Linked DNA regions of Homo sapiens: region 1 is linked to region 2. The links are contacts of gene promoters, found by promoter capture Hi-C in blood cells and fetal thymus (Javierre and others, 2016). All regions are on one chromosome and are shown on one strand. Each heading gives the region's core, a stretch centred on a gene start or on the middle of the fragment in contact. The rest is flanking DNA. Distances are from core to core; before and after follow the strand shown.

Region 1 (4,032 bases), core at 49-2,548, 230 kb before region 2:
ATGGCTCATTTTGTCTACACCACAGAAATAACAGTGGTTCCAGTTAATCATGCTCATGTTGAGGGGGAGTGCTTATGCAGGGGCCACCAGAAGACCCCTCTCCTTCACTACCACCACCACCACCCTAAGAAATGAAAAGCCAAAAAAAGAAACCAAAAAACCAGAGGTCAACAAGAAGCTTCCAGAGGTAGTCAGCAGGGGACAAGAAAGTGTTTTTATAAAAAACGCACATATCTTTGATGACAAAAAAAAAGGGATAGCTATGAAGGAAAAATGAAGCAAATAAAAATTATTTAAAGCATATATTTACTTAAAGCATAATTTTAAAGTCATTTAAAGTATGAACCATAGGAAAGTGTTGAAGAAAAACATTTAAGAAAGTTAAAATGTTAGGGTCTGCAATTGATTCTGTTTCCCCTTGTCTGTTGTTTTATGCTCATCCCTAACATACATTGGCAACAGTGCATGAAGTATTTTCACATTAGCCTTGACATAGTCTCATGAGGAAAAGAGGGGCAGGGACTACTATGAGAGAGCCCAAGGAAGACAACTTTTAGTTGCTCACAACAGTAGTAGCTCCGGAACAGACAGCATTCTTTTTGGGGAAATGCATGACTTTGGGAGAAACTCTCCTGTGATTCCCTTGCTAGAGGAGGCATTACATATTATGCAAAAGCAACAAACAAGTATACACTCAAAATTGGAGGAATAGCTGATGTGTTTACGGATGATTTCACAGAGGTGGCTTGGAGCTCAGTTTTGAAATATGGGGAACGTTTAGAAGAGTCAATAATGAGGGTCTAATGTTAGTGTCATGTAAAAGTTCAGAGGTGGGAAAATGTTTGGCATGTTTTGGGGACAGTGAGTAAATTAGTTGGAGTCTGAAGAGCTCAGCAAGATGAATAATTGAAGGAAAATCTGGGGACAGATTCTGGAGCCCTGAAAGCATTCCATGTTAAGGAATCTTAATGGCAATAAGGAACCATAGAAGGTTTCAGATAAAGGAATGTTTTGATCAACTGCTGCTTAGGAGGTTAATCGGGTCCCTGGTTGCAGGATGGATGGGGCAGAGGCTGTGGGCAGAGATGTCAGGAGTGACATGATGAAGGTCTGGGCAGGGCAGAGGTATGGAGCTGAGTGGGGAGCGTTGATGGGAAAGCGGGTCCCAGTAGGGAAGTGACTAACTTGGTGACCGACCAGAGGTACGGGCTGGGAAAAAGGCAAGGGGAAAGGATGGGGTCATAAATCATGAATCTGTGAAATTGCCAGAACCATTAGTTTGAGGGCTTTGGGGGAGCCCAGGTGATTGCTGGGAGACAGAAGATTTAGAAGATGTCCAGGAACTAGAAGTGTGTAGCCTGCCATGATCCCTGGTGGACTGAACAAAGGTGGGTGGGCAATGGGAATAAAAGACAAGACAAAAGAGTATATTTGGAAGAAGGGGTCAGGGGGCACTTTGCCTCTAGTGGACAAGGGCCCTGAGTTTTACACATCCCTCCGTATTTCGTAGGCAAAAGAGAGCGAGAAAGGGGGGGTGATTGTCGGTAATTGTCAGTTAGAGGTTTGGTTCACAGCAGGCTTGTGAGACTGCATCTTTTGAACAATAGGTGCTAGATTTCTTAGATAACTTCAAGGAGCCCTGCACCAAGGAGTGATGTCCATCAGCAAACCTTTTGGTGGCAGGTGCAGTGTGTTTGCTCACATCCTACATTCATGATAAACAGTTTGCTGTTTGATCATATAGCCTCCAGTGGAATGCTGAGTTGGTCACGATCCCTTTGGCCTTTTCGGCTCCCAACAGAAGTGTGTATAGGAGAGAGTGGGACCACAGATGGAGACTAGAGAGGGAAGGACTGAGGCCTAAATCTTGGAGGATGGCTATATGTGAAGGAGGTAGAGGGGTGGGTCAGAGAGATTGGAGAGGGTTCAGTTAGAGCTGGGTGATGGAAGTCAAGCAGAGTTTGCAGAAGGAAGGAGTGACTAGCAGAAAGGTGAAGAATGAGAGCTGAGCAGATGCTCTTGGCCATCAAGTTCCCTGGTCACCTTGGTGAGAGAGATGTCAGTGGATGCCAGGAGTGGAAATCAGTTTGCACTAGGTTGAGGGATGGAAGCATAGTGGACATCTGTTGGTTCTGCCTGCCTACATCCAATTCCCTTTGTTCTGATACCAGCACTCCAATATTCCTTTGGGGAACCATTCTTCCTCATTTTCAGTTTTGTGGTTTGGATTGAGTGGACCACCCCCATGTGACCCAGGCCTGGCCAATTAGAACATCCCATTCCCTGCCCAAATGATTGGGAATGGACAAGTGAGTCAAACCAGGCTCATGAGGCTCAATTCCAGGACTGTTACTAGAATCTTAGGGAAAGAGCTAACTCTTTCTGCTGGAGCTGACAAGCAGGCAAAGTGTAAGCTTAGAGCTTCTTGTGGTCATCTTGTCATCAAGAGGAGAGATTGAGAGTGAGAATGAGGTCAACATGGAGGAATGCAGAGAGTGAGAAAGACAACTTCCTGTTGGTATCATTGAGGACCTGGATTCAGCCATGCTTGAAGTGAAAGATCTACTTCTGTACTTTTTGGCTCTGTGAACAAATAAATTCTATTTTTTTTCCCCTTAAGACAATTTTGAGTTGTGTTTCTGTCATAAAGAATTCTGCCTAATCCAGGCCAGGCACAGTGGCTCACGCCTATAATCCCAGCACTTTGGGAGGCCAAGATGGGTGGACCATTTGAGGTCAGGAGTTCGAGACCAGCTTGGACAACATTGTGAGACCCCGTCTCCACTAAAAATACAAAAATTAGCCAGGCATGGTAGTGTGCACCTGTAATTCCAGCTACTCAGGAGGCTGAGGTAGGAGAATCGCTTGAACCCAGGAGGCGGAGGTTGCAGTGAGCCGAGATCACGCTGCTGCACTCCAGCCTGGGCAACAGTGTGAGACTCTGTCTCAAAAAAAAAAAAAAAAAAAAAAGAATTTTGCCTAATATAGAATGAGAAGTGAGGGCAAATTTAAATGTAGAAGACATTAGAAAACTTTGCAGCCGGGCACCGTGGCTCACACCTGTAATCCCAACACTTTGGGAGGCCGAGGAGGGTGGATCATCTGAGGTCAGGGGTTCGAGACCAGCCTGACCAACATAAAGAAACCCCGTCTCTACTAAAAATACAAAATTAGCTGGGTGTGGTGGCACATGCCTGTAATCCCAGCTAACTCGGGAGGCTGAGGCAGGAGAATCACTTGAACCCAGGAGGCGGAGGTTTGCGGTGAGCCGAGATCACGCCATTGCACTCCAGTCTGGGCAACAAGAGTGAAACTCCGTCTCAAAAAAAAAAAAAAAAAAAAAAAAAAGGTTTGCAATGAGGGCCGGGCATGGTGGCTCATGCCTATAATCCCAGCACTTTGGGAGGCTGAGGCGGGCAGATCACTTGAGGCCAGGAGTTTAAGATCAGCCTGGCCAACATGGCAAAAACTCACCTCTACTAAAAATATAAAAATTAGCCGGACATGGTGGCATGTGCCTGTAGTCCCGGCTATTGGAGAGGCTGAGGCATGAGAATTGCTTGAACCTGGGAGGTGGAGGTTGCAGTGAGCTGAGATCATCCCACTGCACTCCTGCCTGGGTACAGAGTGAGACTCCATCTCAAAAAAAAAAAAGGAAAGGGGAAAGGAGGAAAGGAGGGAGAGCTGTGGCTAGAGAGGGCTCTAAGGTTGGGGTGATGTTTAGGTAAGAGAGACTTGAATGCTTGAATACATTTGTATGCCGAAGATAGAGGTTGAAGTCATAGAAGAAGGAGAGGTGGTGGGAAGGATGGGCTAAGGAGGGAGGATTTTAGAGGCAGAGACAAGGCTGAGGACAACTCTGAGGGACTCAATTGCTCCAGTAAAGTGAGAACCAGTAGAAAAGAGAGGAGAGGTTTAGAACCACCAAGGGGAAACTCAATAGATGATGGCCAAGAAAGACCTAGAAGGACTGTATTGTTCTAGTCAGGGTTCTCCAGAGAAACAGAATCAATAGAAGATGCATAATATGTA
Region 2 (3,985 bases), core at 1,356-3,855:
TGCTTGCAGAGGTCAGCACTGGAGGGTCCACGACAACCCTCAGAGCTGGGATGCCCTGGGAAGCAATTATTCAGCCTTCTCATGGAGCACATGGGGAAACTGAGGCCTAGGGGGGAGAAGAGACTTACTCCAGCTTGATGGAATATCCATCACCCAGGCAGGGGTAGTTCCACTAGCTCTGATCTCAGAGTGCAGAGTCTTCCCAGCTGTACAGTTCATTTCAATTAAACAAATGTACTCAGCAACTTTTCATAACAGACAGAGGCTTCCACAGAGGCAGCTCTCAAGGAGGCCAAATCCCACGCATCATTCATGCCCACAGGATGTTATTCATGGATAGAAACTTCTGTGTGCATAGATTTATCTTGTGGGAATGCGCAGTGTGGCTTCCCTAACAGAAATCACTTTCCTTGGCCTCTGCAACCACAGCATCTGCTTGAATCTGGTTTGTGGCACTGAATATAATGTTTGCTTTTCTTCATTTTCTGGAGTGGGTGAGAGGTGCACTAGGAGGAACAGGAGATAAGCTGGGGTGGAAGTTCAGGGTGGGGCACTCAGAGGGGGTCAGCTTGCACTGAGCAACCAGGAACACCCTTCTGTGCTGTATGAAGGGATGGGAAGAGGGGAATAGGATTGCACAGGAAATACCTTGAGACCCATGGTTGTGTAATGGGGGAAGCTTCTCCTGGGTTAGACCAATCGTTCTCTTCTGGGTATAATTTTGCACCGTCCCCCCCGCCAACCCCCCCCCCCCCGCCCCAACACACACACCTTTCCCCTGGAAGCATGTGGCAGCGTCTGGAAACATTTTGATTGTTACAACTCAGGGTAGAAGGTGCTATTGGCAACTGATTGGTGGAGGTCAGAGACTCTGCTAAACATCCTACAATGCACAGGACAGCCCTCACACCAAAGGGTTATCCAGCACAAAATGTCAATCGTAAAGAATTTGAGAAACCCTGAGTTCCATTTAGGGTGGGAGGTGCACTGCCTGACAACACATCTGACATAAACCCTCCCCCATGACTGAAGAGAGAGTGTTGGACAGACAGTGAGACTGGCCAGAGAATACACAGAGCTAATTGAGATCATAACAGTGTGTACAAGTTTGACTTTGTCCTTTTAATTTATCATTATGCTATAGCAATATTAGCACAGAGAAAATTATAAATAGGACTATAAGATCTGTCTAATATTGGAGGGACAGAATCTTTTGCAAAGCTGTGCACCAAAAGAGAAAAGCAGCTGTTTCGTGAAAGAACTCAGGACTAGGTCTTGGAATCCAACTCCAGCTCTGCCATTCAACCCCAAGGAGCAAATTTATCTTCTGAGCTCCAGTTACTTCACCTGTAAAACCTGAATGATAATATCTTCTCCATGAGCTGTTTCAAGAAATATGGCACAGCTTATATTCCTTAATATTAGTGAGAATCCCTAATATTCTCACTAATATTAATATTAACCACTCATCTTCCATCATCCACCCACTCTTATACACACTCATAGAGCCACTGTCATTAAGAAGGAGCTATCAAAATATTATCTATGAGTACTTTGAATTTAGAGTCAGGGAAATTGCAAGTAAGAGACTAGATATCCTCTATACAAAGGCATATAAGTCTTCCTATAAGCCAGCTGCTTGCATAGAACTCAAGAATGGAGTCAGAGAGTCAGAAGATAATGCAAGAATAAAATGCAAACATAAAAGGACAAAGAAAAAACATTCTTAGTCATTCACGGTTAGGAATTTCACAGACATCCTAATGAGATGGGATCAGAAGTTAATGCCATATACTCTACTATCGATAACTATAGTTAGAGTGTGGTTATTAATATTGCATTAACTAACTGGTAAGCTACACAGTGTTGTCTCATGGTGTGAGTTCAGTCACTCCAACAAATCCATTTGTTGGCTTCATAAATTTCCCAGCTATAGGACCTCCCCATATATTGCAATAAATCCATATTTCAAATAGGCAGATCTATTCCTGTCAATGCTCAAGCCTGTGTCACTAGACTGAAGAAGTAATGCTCTTTATGGCTGAATATTAACTAGGCTTGTTTCTGTGTGAATATGGTTGAACAATTTTGCGCAATTTCCTCCCCACGTGTAATCAAAGTTTAAAGAAACTTAATCACTTGCTAGGTCCAAGAATTGCATCTTCTTGGGAATTTTCCTCTCTGAGAATCTAAGAAAGCCCAGATCAAATGAAATTGCTGTGGATTTGCATTAAAGAGAAATAATTCATAGCATTTCCTAGCACTTAATCACAATGAAGAGGAAAAGCCCTCCTTGGGCCAGGGATATGCTCTGCTGGGTTCAAGTCTTGTCTCTGTCACCAACTTGCTCAGAAGATTTGGACAGGTCACTTCTCCTCCCCAGGCCTCTATCACCTTTGTGGACACTGAGAGGGTGCAGCAACTTCAGAAAAATCCCTCATGCACAACCGGACATTTGAGGCCCTCACCCACTACCTGTCCAGCTCTGACCTTCTGTCTTCTAAGACACCCCCTACTGTCTCTTTCCGTCATTTTTCTCTTGCACAGATATGTTCTTCTATTATGCAATGGGAACTTGACCACATATTAGATGCCTAGGACTCTTCCCAAAAAGCCTGATGCGCTGCTCAGTACTTTGCTGATGGCAGAGGGGATATCACATGGAAAAAGCCAATGAGACCTCCCCTGTGATGGGGTTCGTTCTCCTGAGGCTCTCTGCCCACCCAGAGCTGGAAAAGACATTCTTCGTGCTCATCCTGCTGATGTACCTCGTGATCCTGCTGGGCAATGGGGTCCTCATCCTGGTGACCATCCTTGACTCCCGCCTGCACACGCCCATGTACTTCTTCCTAGGGAACCTCTCCTTCCTGGACATCTGCTTCACTACCTCCTCAGTCCCACTGGTCCTGGACAGCTTTTTGACTCCCCAGGAAACCATCTCCTTCTCAGCCTGTGCTGTGCAGATGGCACTCTCCTTTGCCATGGCAGGAACAGAGTGCTTGCTCCTGAGCATGATGGCATTTGATCGCTATGTGGCCATCTGCAACCCCCTTAGGTACTCCGTGATCATGAGCAAGGCTGCCTACATGCCCATGGCTGCCAGCTCCTGGGCTATTGGTGGTGCTGCTTCCGTGGTACACACATCCTTGGCAATTCAGCTGCCCTTCTGTGGAGACAATGTCATCAACCACTTCACCTGTGAGATTCTGGCTGTTCTAAAGTTGGCCTGTGCTGACATTTCCATCAATGTGATCAGCATGGAGGTGACGAATGTGATCTTCCTAGGAGTCCCGGTTCTGTTCATCTCTTTCTCCTATGTCTTCATCATCACCACCATCCTGAGGATCCCCTCAGCTGAGGGGAGGAAAAAGGTCTTCTCCACCTGCTCTGCCCACCTCACCGTGGTGATCGTCTTCTACGGGACCTTATTCTTCATGTATGGGAAGCCTAAGTCTAAGGACTCCATGGGAGCAGACAAAGAGGATCTTTCAGACAAACTCATCCCCCTTTTCTATGGGGTGGTGACCCCGATGCTCAACCCCATCATCTATAGCCTGAGGAACAAGGATGTGAAGGCTGCTGTGAGGAGACTGCTGAGACCAAAAGGCTTCACTCAGTGATGGTGGAAGGGTCCTCTGTGATTGTCACCCACATGGAAGTAAGGAATCACAATCACATCAGCTGCCATTCAAAAGCCAAGTCATGTGACCTATAATGGTTTCTCACTCTAAGTCCATTTGCAGGAGATATTAAACTTTTCAGACGATATCTCCTGAGTTTTAGTCCTATGTCTGACAGCTTCAACAGACACCAGACTCAATAAATAATCAACTGTGATGAAGGCATTCTGAACATACGGTAAAACCACACGAGACAGCAGCCATGAAAGCATGACGCATGGCCCTTAGAGTGTCTCAGCTCTAGAGTTAGAACAGGGACGTGAGAATGTTCTCACAGCAACTTACCAGCCCTACTGGATTCACCA

What was found. The method cuts DNA at HindIII sites, captures the fragments that hold promoters and counts their contacts. A CHiCAGO score of 5 or more calls a contact.
Region 1: a contact is called between a fragment that was not itself captured here and the fragment with the promoter of OR2S2 in region 2, in 1 of 17 cell types (endothelial precursors). The highest score is 5.9, in endothelial precursors.

The regions. Positions count from the first base shown.
Region 1 is chr9:36,185,963-36,189,994 of GRCh38, reverse strand. No RefSeq gene overlaps it. Among named protein-coding and RNA genes, the nearest start is that of CLTA, 2.9 kb to the left of the region's middle. The HindIII fragment of the contact is 2,236 bases long and covers 181-2,416 here.
Region 2 is chr9:35,956,774-35,960,758 of GRCh38, reverse strand. It overlaps OR2S2 (olfactory receptor family 2 subfamily S member 2), which reads left to right and starts at 2,605. Exons shown (of 1, transcript NM_019897.2): 1 at 2,605-3,651. The coding sequence starts at 2,661. The coding sequence ends at 3,620. The HindIII fragment of the contact is 3,590 bases long and covers 682-3,985 here.